Regions from separate parts of the Homo sapiens genome. Here all the other regions are linked to region 1. Evidence: promoter capture Hi-C in 16 types of primary human blood cells and fetal thymus (Javierre and others, 2016). All regions are on one chromosome and are shown on one strand. The core of a region is centred on a gene start or on the middle of the fragment in contact, and the rest is flanking DNA. Distances in the headings are between cores, read along the strand shown.

What was found. Contacts are between HindIII fragments. The CHiCAGO score rates a contact against its expected background, and 5 or more counts as called.
Region 2: a contact is called between a fragment that was not itself captured here and the fragment with the promoter of LDLRAD3 in region 1, in 1 of 17 cell types (endothelial precursors). The highest score is 5.6, in endothelial precursors.
Region 3: a fragment that was not itself captured here is called in contact with the fragment with the promoter of LDLRAD3 in region 1 in 2 of 17 cell types (endothelial precursors and erythroblasts); the score reaches 8.8 in endothelial precursors.

The regions. Positions count from the first base shown.
Region 1 is chr11:35,942,746-35,946,020 of GRCh38, reverse strand. It overlaps LDLRAD3 (low density lipoprotein receptor class A domain containing 3), which reads right to left and starts at 1,959. Exons shown (of 6, transcript NM_174902.4): 1 at 1,877-1,959. The coding sequence starts at 1,922. RefSeq lists a silencer at 1,609-2,048. The HindIII fragment of the contact is 2,245 bases long and covers 1,264-3,275 here.
Region 2 is chr11:35,731,844-35,735,307 of GRCh38, reverse strand. The region is part of intron 3 of TRIM44 (tripartite motif containing 44); the gene reads right to left. Among named protein-coding and RNA genes, the nearest start is that of TRIM44, 71 kb to the right of the region's middle. The HindIII fragment of the contact is 791 bases long and covers 1,318-2,108 here.
Region 3 is chr11:36,163,166-36,166,910 of GRCh38, reverse strand. The region is part of intron 4 of LDLRAD3 (low density lipoprotein receptor class A domain containing 3); the gene reads right to left. Among named protein-coding and RNA genes, the nearest start is that of COMMD9, 120 kb to the left of the region's middle. The HindIII fragment of the contact is 573 bases long and covers 2,151-2,723 here.

The sequences.
Region 1 (3,275 bases), core at 710-3,209:
ATGTTTCTAAGGCAGCAACTCTAAAGGTAATTCAAAGCCCACAGATAATGGAAAACCCACCAGGGACAGTTGGACTATTCCTCCCCCTATCCGTCTGCTCCTTGCTATGACCATTTTATTTATTTTAGCCCTATCTCAGATGTACACACACACATTAAATAGCCACTGCTGACCAGAGAGGGACAAAATTAACTTTACAACTATTTTTACAGAGATGGAGACTCAACTAAAGCAACCCAGTACCAACTGGGAGATGCAATAAATAAGTTTCCATTTGGCTACAGTGGCTCTCCCAGGACACACACAAGAGCCAGCTTCCATACTGTCCTTCTCAGGTGCTATGAGGGGACACACCACAGCTACACAGATTGAATTTGTGAATCCAAACAGGTCTTCATATCTGTAGACGCCCTGAAAATCGACCTGCTCTAACAGCCTCCAAACAATTCACACCTGCTCCTGGCTGCCCAATGTCCTGTGAGAACTCTCTCCCCAGGTGGACTAATTTAAGGGCACTCTCACCCAGACCTGGTTAAAAATCCACAGCAGTCACCAGGAGGTCTAGTCCCTCCCTGGAAGCCCAGCAAACCCATAAGCATCTAAATGGGGTATCAGAGGAGTGGAGATGATGTCATGGGTCTGAGAGCAGGAAAGGCTGCCCAGTGGGCTGTGAGGATGCCCAGGACCAGGGACATCAAGGAAGAGAGGAGATATCCCTTTAACGCATTCATAACTCCAAGGCACAGCTAAGAATGAAGTGAGCCTCAACTTAGCAAACCCACAGGCCACCAAAGACACCTCGACAGCCAAGCTGCTAGAAGCACTTGGCAAAATAGGGCAGCTATTGGACATGTGGATGGCACAAACACCAGGCAGGCAAGATTCTGCTGAAGAAAGTTCACTGGGCCCTGTCACCCACATTCTAGGCATCAGATGCCCAGAAATAAACGTCAAGGGGCCAAGGGCGGGCCCAGTCCAGGAGGGACAGCTGACAGCTGTGGGCGGCGGGCAGGGGCAGAGGAGGAAGGGCTCCCAGGCTGGAATTCGGATCATGCCCACATCAGCAGAAAAGTTCCTGGGAACAGCACGCTGTCTGGAAGGGAAAGAGGCTTGCTGCGGTCCAGGCCCCGGGATGCACACGCGGTGGTGATGCCAGGTTCAAAGGGCCGCCGGATGAAGCCCCGTGTCCTCTCCCAGGGCCCCTCGCCGGTCAGGGCGCCCATCGCGGGGCAAGTAGGGTGGTCAGACGTCTTAAATAAAGCTTCGGTTCCCAGGATCAGTGGGGAAAAATGAATTCCCAGATCCGGCCTTGCTTCAACTCACTTTACCCAAACCAAACAGTCCCAGAGAGGAATGAAAGGAAGCAGCTTTGCTACTCCCTCCGCGGTGCAGGTGGGGAAACTGAGGCACGGAGTGCACGCCAGAGACTCGGGAAGAGGCCCAGAGGAGGCTAACGCAGCCGCGCGCGACCAGGCGTCTGGGAAGATGAGACCAGGGAAGAGTTCTCTCCTCTCCTCTCCTTTCCTTTCCCCGCCTCCGTTCCTCAACACACACAACACACACACAGCCACACTCGAGCTACGCCCAATCGGGGCAGCCGCCGGGCTCCCCAGACCCGGACTGCACACAGAGCCCCGCCCGCGCACACAGCACAACACGACCCGGCGCGCACGCCCACACAATAGGACGGCTCGCACCCCGCGGCGGCCCCTCGGCAGGGTCCGGGCCAGCCCGGCGCCGGGGTCCGCCCTCCGCGCTCACCCACGCCCGGAGAGCGGCCCGCGCCCGGGAGAGGACGCGATCGCACCCGGCCGCTGCGCCCCGCGCCCCGCGCCCCGCGCCCCGCGGGAAGTTCGCCGGCCGCCCCCCGACTCACCCGCGGCGCTGCTCAGCAGCAGGCACAGCGGCCCCAGCAGCCACATGGCGCGGCCGCCGCTCCCGCTGCCCGGCGTCGTTGCTGCCCCCGCGGCCTCGGCGCTGACCCCGCCCCTCGCCGCGCCGTCCCCGCCCTCCCGCCTGGCCCTCCTCCCTCCCGCCTTCCCCGGGCCCGGCCCCGGCCCGGCTCCGCTAAGTTTTGCAAGCGCCTGGGCTGCGCGTGGCCACCCGCATGTTACCCTGGGTGTCCTGACTCCGAGGGGCCGCCGAGCGCGGCGGAGGGTTCAGCCTTTCGGTCTCTCAGCCTTTCAGCCTCCCAGGTCTGGCCGCGAGGATCTTCTAACAGCCTGGGCTCTGTTCTCTGCTTCCTTTTGTCCCTCTCATTTCTGCCTTTGCTTCCACACCCAGCGAGATGCAGCGCCCAGACCAAAACTTGAGTTCTTTACTCAAACTACAAAGTGAGTTTACTACCGAGAGAGAAAAAGTTAAAATAAAGGGTCAAATCTTATGAGAAAATTGTAGTATATTTTTAGTAGCGAGTGTGGAATACCAGTGCTTCTCAAACTTTAATATGCATCCGGCACACTTGACGATCTTGTTAAAATACTGACTCTGGTTCAGTAGATCTGGCGTGGAGCCTGAGATTCTGCATTTTTAACAACATGGTGGCTGATTCCAAGGCTGATGATCCGGGAGCCACCGGTAAGAGCAGCTGACACCTACCATGCACACAGCGTGGACCACATGAGTTATTTTGTCTGCATAGTGTCCACCTTGACCTGTTGAACGTTTGGGACCCAATTTGGAAAAAATAAAATTAAAAAAAGGAAAAGGTCATGAAAGGCAGATACCCAAATGCAAAAAATATAGCTGCACCAATGCACTTGCTTCCAGAGGGCACTGGTGAAAAGCCCCAAAAGACTTAGATGGTGGAAGAAGGGGATGACACTTCTGTGCTCCACTCTCTCTGATCCCCCACCCAAAAAAAGCAAAAGACTAACGCAAATAATTGCCAAAAACTGGAAACAACTCAAGTGTCCATCAATTGATAAATGGATCAATAAATTAAAACTTTTGGGGGCAGTGGGACTGTTCTAATCTTGATTATAGAGGTAGTTACACAACTGTATACATTTGTCAAAACAATAGAACTGCATCCCTAAAATCCACCCCTCAAAAGGGTTGAGTTTATTTACACAAACTCCACCTGGCTGAAAGAAAGGGGAAGGTATGGGTACAGGGGCAGTTATAAAAGGGATGCCTGCGTCAGATTTTGGGATGCCCTGGAGACACCCTCAAGGGTGTTAAGATTCAATTACTTTACTCTGTAATTGCGTGCTGTAGTCTGGAAACATAAAGGCTAAAAAGGATCAGGTCAAAATTTAAAAATACCAATGATT
Region 2 (3,464 bases), core at 464-2,963, 210 kb after region 1:
ACAGAGACAAACCAACAGACATCTAAAGGCTAAGACAAGAGCTAATATAATCCTATGTTCAAACTGCCCAGTGGAGATGACCTGATAATTTGCCCTGACAAGCAGAGCAGAGAAGTGAATGCACAGACCTAGGAGGCCTAAATAATTGCCTTGCCTTTTTATTTGTATGGCTGGCAGTATTTAGTTCTTAGCAAAGTGAGAAACCCAAAATAGAGGCACGTCTTAGACAAAAGCTAGCCAGTTCCAAAAACATCAAACTGTTTCCTTCAAAGACTCATTTCTGCCTTGTTCTAGCATTTTTCATCAAACATGAACACTGCAATTCTAATATAAAGAACACTGTGGTATAAAGGGCACTGAACTGGGACTCAAGAAATTGGGATTCTAGTCCAAGCTCTGTTACTTATTAGTTATGTGTCCTTGGGCAAACATTAATTAATCTGGACTTTGGTCTTCTCCTCCGTAAGTGGTTAGTTCTGGCATTTGATGATCCACATCATTCTTCCATCAAACAATGGCTCTTCTCTTTTTCTTGCCCACTTTTCAAAAACAATGTGTTAACATTATTTTTCCAGGTATGGCATTCTCTCAACCTAACTTTATCAGAAGTGATCACAGCAGATTCCTTTGAGCTTCCTTCTGTGATCAAATTAGATTTTTCAAATAACTCTCAAGCCTTTCCCAAGGGACCTCATTCATCCTTTTGGTGTCAGCGTATCTTTTATATCCTTCTTTTTAGCCATTGAAGGGTAGTCTCAATAGAGAATGTACATTCTGGTTGTACTCCTCGGAGAATGAATGAATGAATGAATGGTTCCTACTGGTATAAGGCAGAATGAGCTCTCAAGTCCGATGTTCTGGGTTCAAGTCTTAACCCTATCACTCTACTGCTCTAATAGCTTACTCATGTTATTTTGCCTTTCTTAACTTCAATTTCCTAATTTGTAAAATGGGGTAATAATTGTCTCTGTATCATAGGATGAGTATGAGGATTAAATGAAATAATGCTTATAATCATCAAACACAGTGCCTGTGACACAGGATGTATTTAATAAAGGCTATATATCAGTATCAGTAACAATTCAGTAGGATTCATTAAGAAGCTACTATATATATATATGCTAACTAAGGAAAAACAATCACTCATAATGATCTAACCTTCTAGGATTTTCGAATCAGGAGCATGAGAAACAGGCAGAAAGAAAATGAACTATTACTAAATGTGTTATGATCAATATCAAAGACATAAACAGAATAATATGAGAATCAACAGGGAAGTTATGAACACTGCCTCTCCTGGAGAAGGTGGGAAAAGCTTCACACACAGAAGGTAACATTGATATTGCCACTTTGAGGGATAAATAGTATTTTCCCAGGCTGACAACAGAGAAAAGTGGGAAGAACACTGAACTAGCAAGAGCAAAGGCAAATTTCTAAAAATGTGTTGTTCAAGGGACCTTGAGTTCTGTGAAACTACAGAATGGGGATGTGCACATGTGTGTTTTGGGCAGGGCGCTGGGGGTGGTATAAGGTTGGAACTGAGGGCAATGTGGGGTTGAGCGTGACTGAGGTAAAGGGAGACTGCCAGGGTGCAAGCCTGTAAAGTACAGCTGCAGCCAGAAAGGTGATTTAAATCAAACTAGCCATTTGAGGTCGAATAAGAAGGGCATTTTTGGCAGACTGTTAAAGATCTGCAATAGTGGGAAGGGCGTTAATCATCCACACTCCAACTAGAGGGAAGTAGGGCGAGTGGTAGAGGGAGGGTATAGGGATGGTGGAAAATTTCTTCGCATTTTTATCATCTGATATGTCTCATGGGATCTATAATATACCAATAAAAAGTTATATAATTTAAATTTAACATGAGTTACATAACTATGAATGACATAATTATATCTCAACACAAATTTTTCAATTATTTTTGGATGTTTAAGCCTAATTGTCTAAGATAACTTTATGGAAAAAATATCTAAACTTTCTCCCATAATTTAGAGCAAGTCCTCCTCAAAATCACATACCTTGGTGTAATGATTAAGAGACAGGGTTTCTCAGTTATAATATAAAAACATGGTCTCAAATTCTGGTTCATTAATCCCAAAAGTGAAGCTTTTGGCAATTTTCTTCTCCAAGGTTCAGTTTCTCCATCTGCACATAAAGATCCTAGTTCTTACCTCAAAGGGTCACCATATGGATTAAAATAAATGAGAAAATCTGTGTAAAACACTAAGCAAGTGTCTAGTACCTTGTAATCGTTCAACAAATAGTAGCCATTATTTTACTTTCCTTGAATTGTTAATTAATAACATTTCTAGGGGAGAGCGGGGAAGGACAGAAAAGATGGGACACAAAGTTTTGCTATATGTTCATCCAATTCTACTGCTTATAGATGTATGCTTCTTTTCAGAAACAATGGTCACTGTTACAAAGCAAGAATATACACACACATATGAATTATAAAGCCGTTTTGAATAGGTTGGCACGGAGAGGATTGCTAACCTTGCTAGTAAAAGATATGCATGTGATGTTCCTGCTACCTGAAATGCACATCCCTATTCTAAAAACCTAGCTAATTCCTATCTATCCTTTAAGATCAAGCCTTACTCGAAACTTCTTCACTAACATCTTGAATAAGTTAATCCTCCTCCTTTCTCCCACATTTGTAGGGTTTGCCACTCTACACTAGTACTTAGAGAAGAAAACTGACAATGACAACATCAAACAGTGCCTCCCTCTTTGGATTTCAACTCCTTGAGAATAGAACTTGTGTTTTGCTCATTTCTGTATTCACCGCACCTAACACAGCACAAGGCTCATAGTAAATAATTATTCAAGATATAGGTAAGCTTTAAGATTAATTTCTACTCCTATTATAAGCAAATTCTGGTTTCAGAGAATATCAGAAGTGAGAGTCTATTAAATACCAACTTCCATTTAAATGACTTGTTAGATTAAGCACTGCTCCCAAATCCCTAATTATCACAAATGCTCTTTGTGATATCTGATGGCAGACTGCACTCTTGTGCAACCTCCCATTTCTACCTCCACCAGTGGAAATGTTGTTCACCAAGAATCAAACAAGGCTGTTTATATGAACTTGTAATGATGACACATTTAATTAAATAACAAAAAGTGAATGCAAGAGAGATAACTTGCTCACATAAGAACTAAGTTGAATGCATCCACAGAATTTAATAAAGATGAATTACTTAAAAATTGTTGTCAATTTTGGTGTAGGTGAAACACAAGCAAAATACTAGAAACAGTAAGTTATAAGAACTAAGATTCTGCATTCAGCTTGCTTTGAATGGTATCACCCTCACTATAGACAGTCTGAAATTGGACCTTATAAATGGCGCAAAATGGGTATGGTTTAGCCAGAAACATGACATTTAACTCTAATTAGCAAACCCATATTTTCAAAGTCCTTGCCTCAGAATAAAAAAAAAAGTACAAATATGTTTCAA
Region 3 (3,745 bases), core at 1,188-3,687, 220 kb before region 1:
ATATGGTAGACTAGAGCCTCGCTATTCAAATGGTGCTTGGATCAGCAGCAGCGGCATCTCCTGGGAATTTGACAGACATGCATTCTCTCTGGCCCCATCCTGGACCTACTGAATCAGAATCTTCATTTTAACAGATCCCCAGATGATTTGTGTGTACATTACAATTTGAGAAGTACTGGGCTAGAAGATCATGTTTCCAACCATTTACAGTATTTATAATAAAAGGCTTGAAGTCTAGACATTGTAAAAGTCAGATAGCTCTAAAGTAAAGGGTCAAAGAGGAAGAATTAAGAAACAAAGTAGAAATAACAGGGAAATTTGAAATAAGTCATCTCTCTTATTAATCAATATACACCTTACCAATAGTGGAAAATAAATAAATATTTGTCAAACAAATGGACAAAAGAATACATGAATGAAATGGGCTCTTTGTAACAGAGGTTTTCTAACAAACTGGCTTCTATTTACAAGGAAAGCCTTTAGGCAAAAGAGAAAAATTTCATTTCCACCCTCCAGAGTCCAGGTCACCTTTCCCCCTTCCATGTCTCACTGAGAGGCACTGCCATGCCGATGTGATTACCTGGTGACAGTGTCTCACTTGAATACTCATGTCTTGCTCTAGGCTCCCACTGTAACTCATGTTGACATGGAGCAATGTTTCATTTCCAGATCCATATGTATGAATTTTTAATGAACTGTGTCAAAGAAATCAAATATTTCCCCCTGCATTCCCACTCTATGGAATCAGATTTTGACCTTCTGCCAAACAACTATAAATCATGTTCAGCGGAAAGAGCAGGAACCAGGGGCTACTGCACATAGATTAGCCAGTCAATTTCCCTCTGTCAGCCCTTCACCTAAGCTGTCTAGGATGGGAGAGGAGGGAGGAGAGGAGAGGATGGAATAGAGGAAGGAAGGAAGGAAGGAAGGAAGGGAGGGAGGGAGGGAGGGAGGGAGGGAGGGAGGAAGCAAGCCAGTCAGCCTAGAAAAGAAATATAAACAGTAGGCACTCAACGGTTACTAAAATATTTAAGCCATAAAAATGAGATCACTTATTTTTTGAAACCTGGGTGATCATCTTGTTAACTAGAATCTTTGGATCATTAATTCCCTGCTTCTGTAATTTGGTCTTATATTTCTTCATGTAAGATGACTTAAAACTGGGGGGTGGGAGGGGGAGGTGAGAAGTTTGAAAAAGTAGAATGAAAATAAATAATTTCCTTTTTCAAGAGCACTTTCCTAGAATTTCCAATGAACTATGCAAAACACAGCAGGACCTTCCTAAATAAAGGCTCAATCAACACTTAGAAGGGAGCTGCAATTAGATACCATTTCTTGCCTAGCAGTGCAAGAATGATTTTTTAAAATGATAATATCCTATGTTGGCAATTACGTGATGAAAAAAAGGTTCTATCAAATTGCTTGTGGGGGTGTAAACAGATATCCATTTGGATAACAAGTTAGTAATATAAGTGTAATGGGCCCTAAAGGTGTTCATACCTCATATAAATCTTACGGTAATCTATCCTAAGGAAGTAATTCAAAAGACGAAAGCAAAAAAAAAAAGGTTTAAAGCCATCACAACTTCGTCTACAACAATGTATTGACAAAATCTAAATGTTCATCAATAGATGTGTGGCTAAGTAAAATAAGATGCACCCATTTAATAGAATATCATACAACCATTAAGAATGCTTACTAAGAGTTTATAACAACATGGGAAAATATTTATTAATATAAGTGGGAAAAAAAGTAGGATGTAAAACTGAATAAAAAGTATCACGGTTGCAAGAACAAAAAGCCTCCATTGCCTAGGCATGGAAAAGGATATGGGAGGAAATACGCCAACTGCTAATAGTGATTATTTATGGAAGCAGGAAATGTGGGTAAAATTTTCCCTGTTCTATATTTTCCAAACATCCTGTAATGAGTATATGTACTTTTATAATGGGAACATAAGATTTTATTGTGCTTTTGAAAAGCAAGTCAGTTGTATAAGTAAAATTCTAAAAGATATCTCTTTCAACAAACAATAGCAACTGGGTCATGGCTAATTCAAGGTGAAGCACATTTGTAAATATCAAATTTTCTAATCTAACATCCAGATCTGGGACATAGAAGAATCTGGCGGGCTGCCTGCTCGCAAAGCTTCTATCTCTGTCCAAAACACTGCACTTAAGAAGTTAAAGGAAGAGTCAGAGCTGTCAGCTTTAAGCCAGTAGATTCTAGGATGATTCAAATAGCTGTCATAGACACTCCATTTGCTAAAGCTCACTCACTGGAAGGGGATCTGCCACACAGGGCTGAAGAACAGACACACGGATGGACAGACATGGATTATATCGGACCCTGCTGCTTGCCAGCAATCATCCCCACTCACAGCATTTTCCTTTCTTGGCAAGTTTGTACACTTAAAAGCTACCAACTCTCGCTTTTTTACCCTGTTCAAGCAAAAAATTTTGAAGCAAGCCATCTGTGCCTGGAAATGAGCAGCAATCTAAGACCATATGCAAGTGCAGGGGCAGGGGCACAATTCCATTTGAGTGATGAGTTTATTGATAAATGTTCTAAGTGGCTGACTCTTGTTCAATTTTAAATAAAGCAACACTTGGGTATTTTAAATAGGTGAAACAGCATCAGCAGCAGGCAGCTTGTGATGAGCAAACCCAACGCCCATGTGCTTCACATAAGACATCTTAACAATTTTCATCACCATGGAAGCTTGTATGAGATGCACAGGGACAGAGCGTGGCTGAGATTCCCAGGGCTCAACCATGATATCAGCTCCTGTGTGACCTAGAGGATCACCCAGGGCAGTGGTAAGAGGCTGGAAAATGGCTCCTTCTAGAAAGATGTCTTAATTCAGTTCTGTCACCGATTTCCTCTCTTCCCACTGGAAGCTCTAGGTCTCTATTTTCTTAATCCAGTCAGGCAGGACATAGATCAAAGCAGTGAAAACTGAAGCCACTCAGCACTAGGGACAAAGATGAAAACGGGAGCAAAATTGAGGTGGCTCATTCAGTGCTCTAAACCAGTGAACTTCCACCATTTGAGACACTATTCCCCCAATATATGTATATTTCCATTATATACATGATCCCGTCAATCTATATATCAAATCTAAAGCTTTTCTTTCTTCCTGCCCTTCTTCCCCTCCCCTTTTCCCTTTCTCTCTCCCTTTTCCCTCCCTCCCTCCCTCCCTTCCTTCCCTAAACAATCACCTTGCACACATCCCTCTTTGGAAGACTGTTCTAAACACTCAAGTGGGTTATCAAATGGGTGCAGGAGTGAAGGGGTGGGAAAGGCAGTGCATTTCCTACCTTTACAGTCTTGCAGAGGGAAACCATCCTGAAAAGGATTTCCACATATGGTTGGTAGGTATCTTACATCACCATTCTCCGAAATCTATTTACCTACACTGGGCACTTGACTATACCCAGTCACACATCATATGCAGGGAAGTAAGGCTAGGCTTCATTAATGTGGATCCCATAAGCTAATTCAAACCAGGCTGGGCTAAGCCACACCTCGGTGCTGTGTATTAAGAAGAATGGGTCTGCTGAATAATCAGAGTGGAGAAAGTGGCAGCAGTCAGGGGGATGTTTAATTGCTGGAAGGGAATAGACTCTTTTCAGGCTCCATTTATAGCCAAGCAATCCATCTACCAATTACAGGCAAGTTCTTATCCAGACATTAAAGCAGGCAACTGCCTGTGTTGGAAATCAACCAAAACTGCTTATCTTCA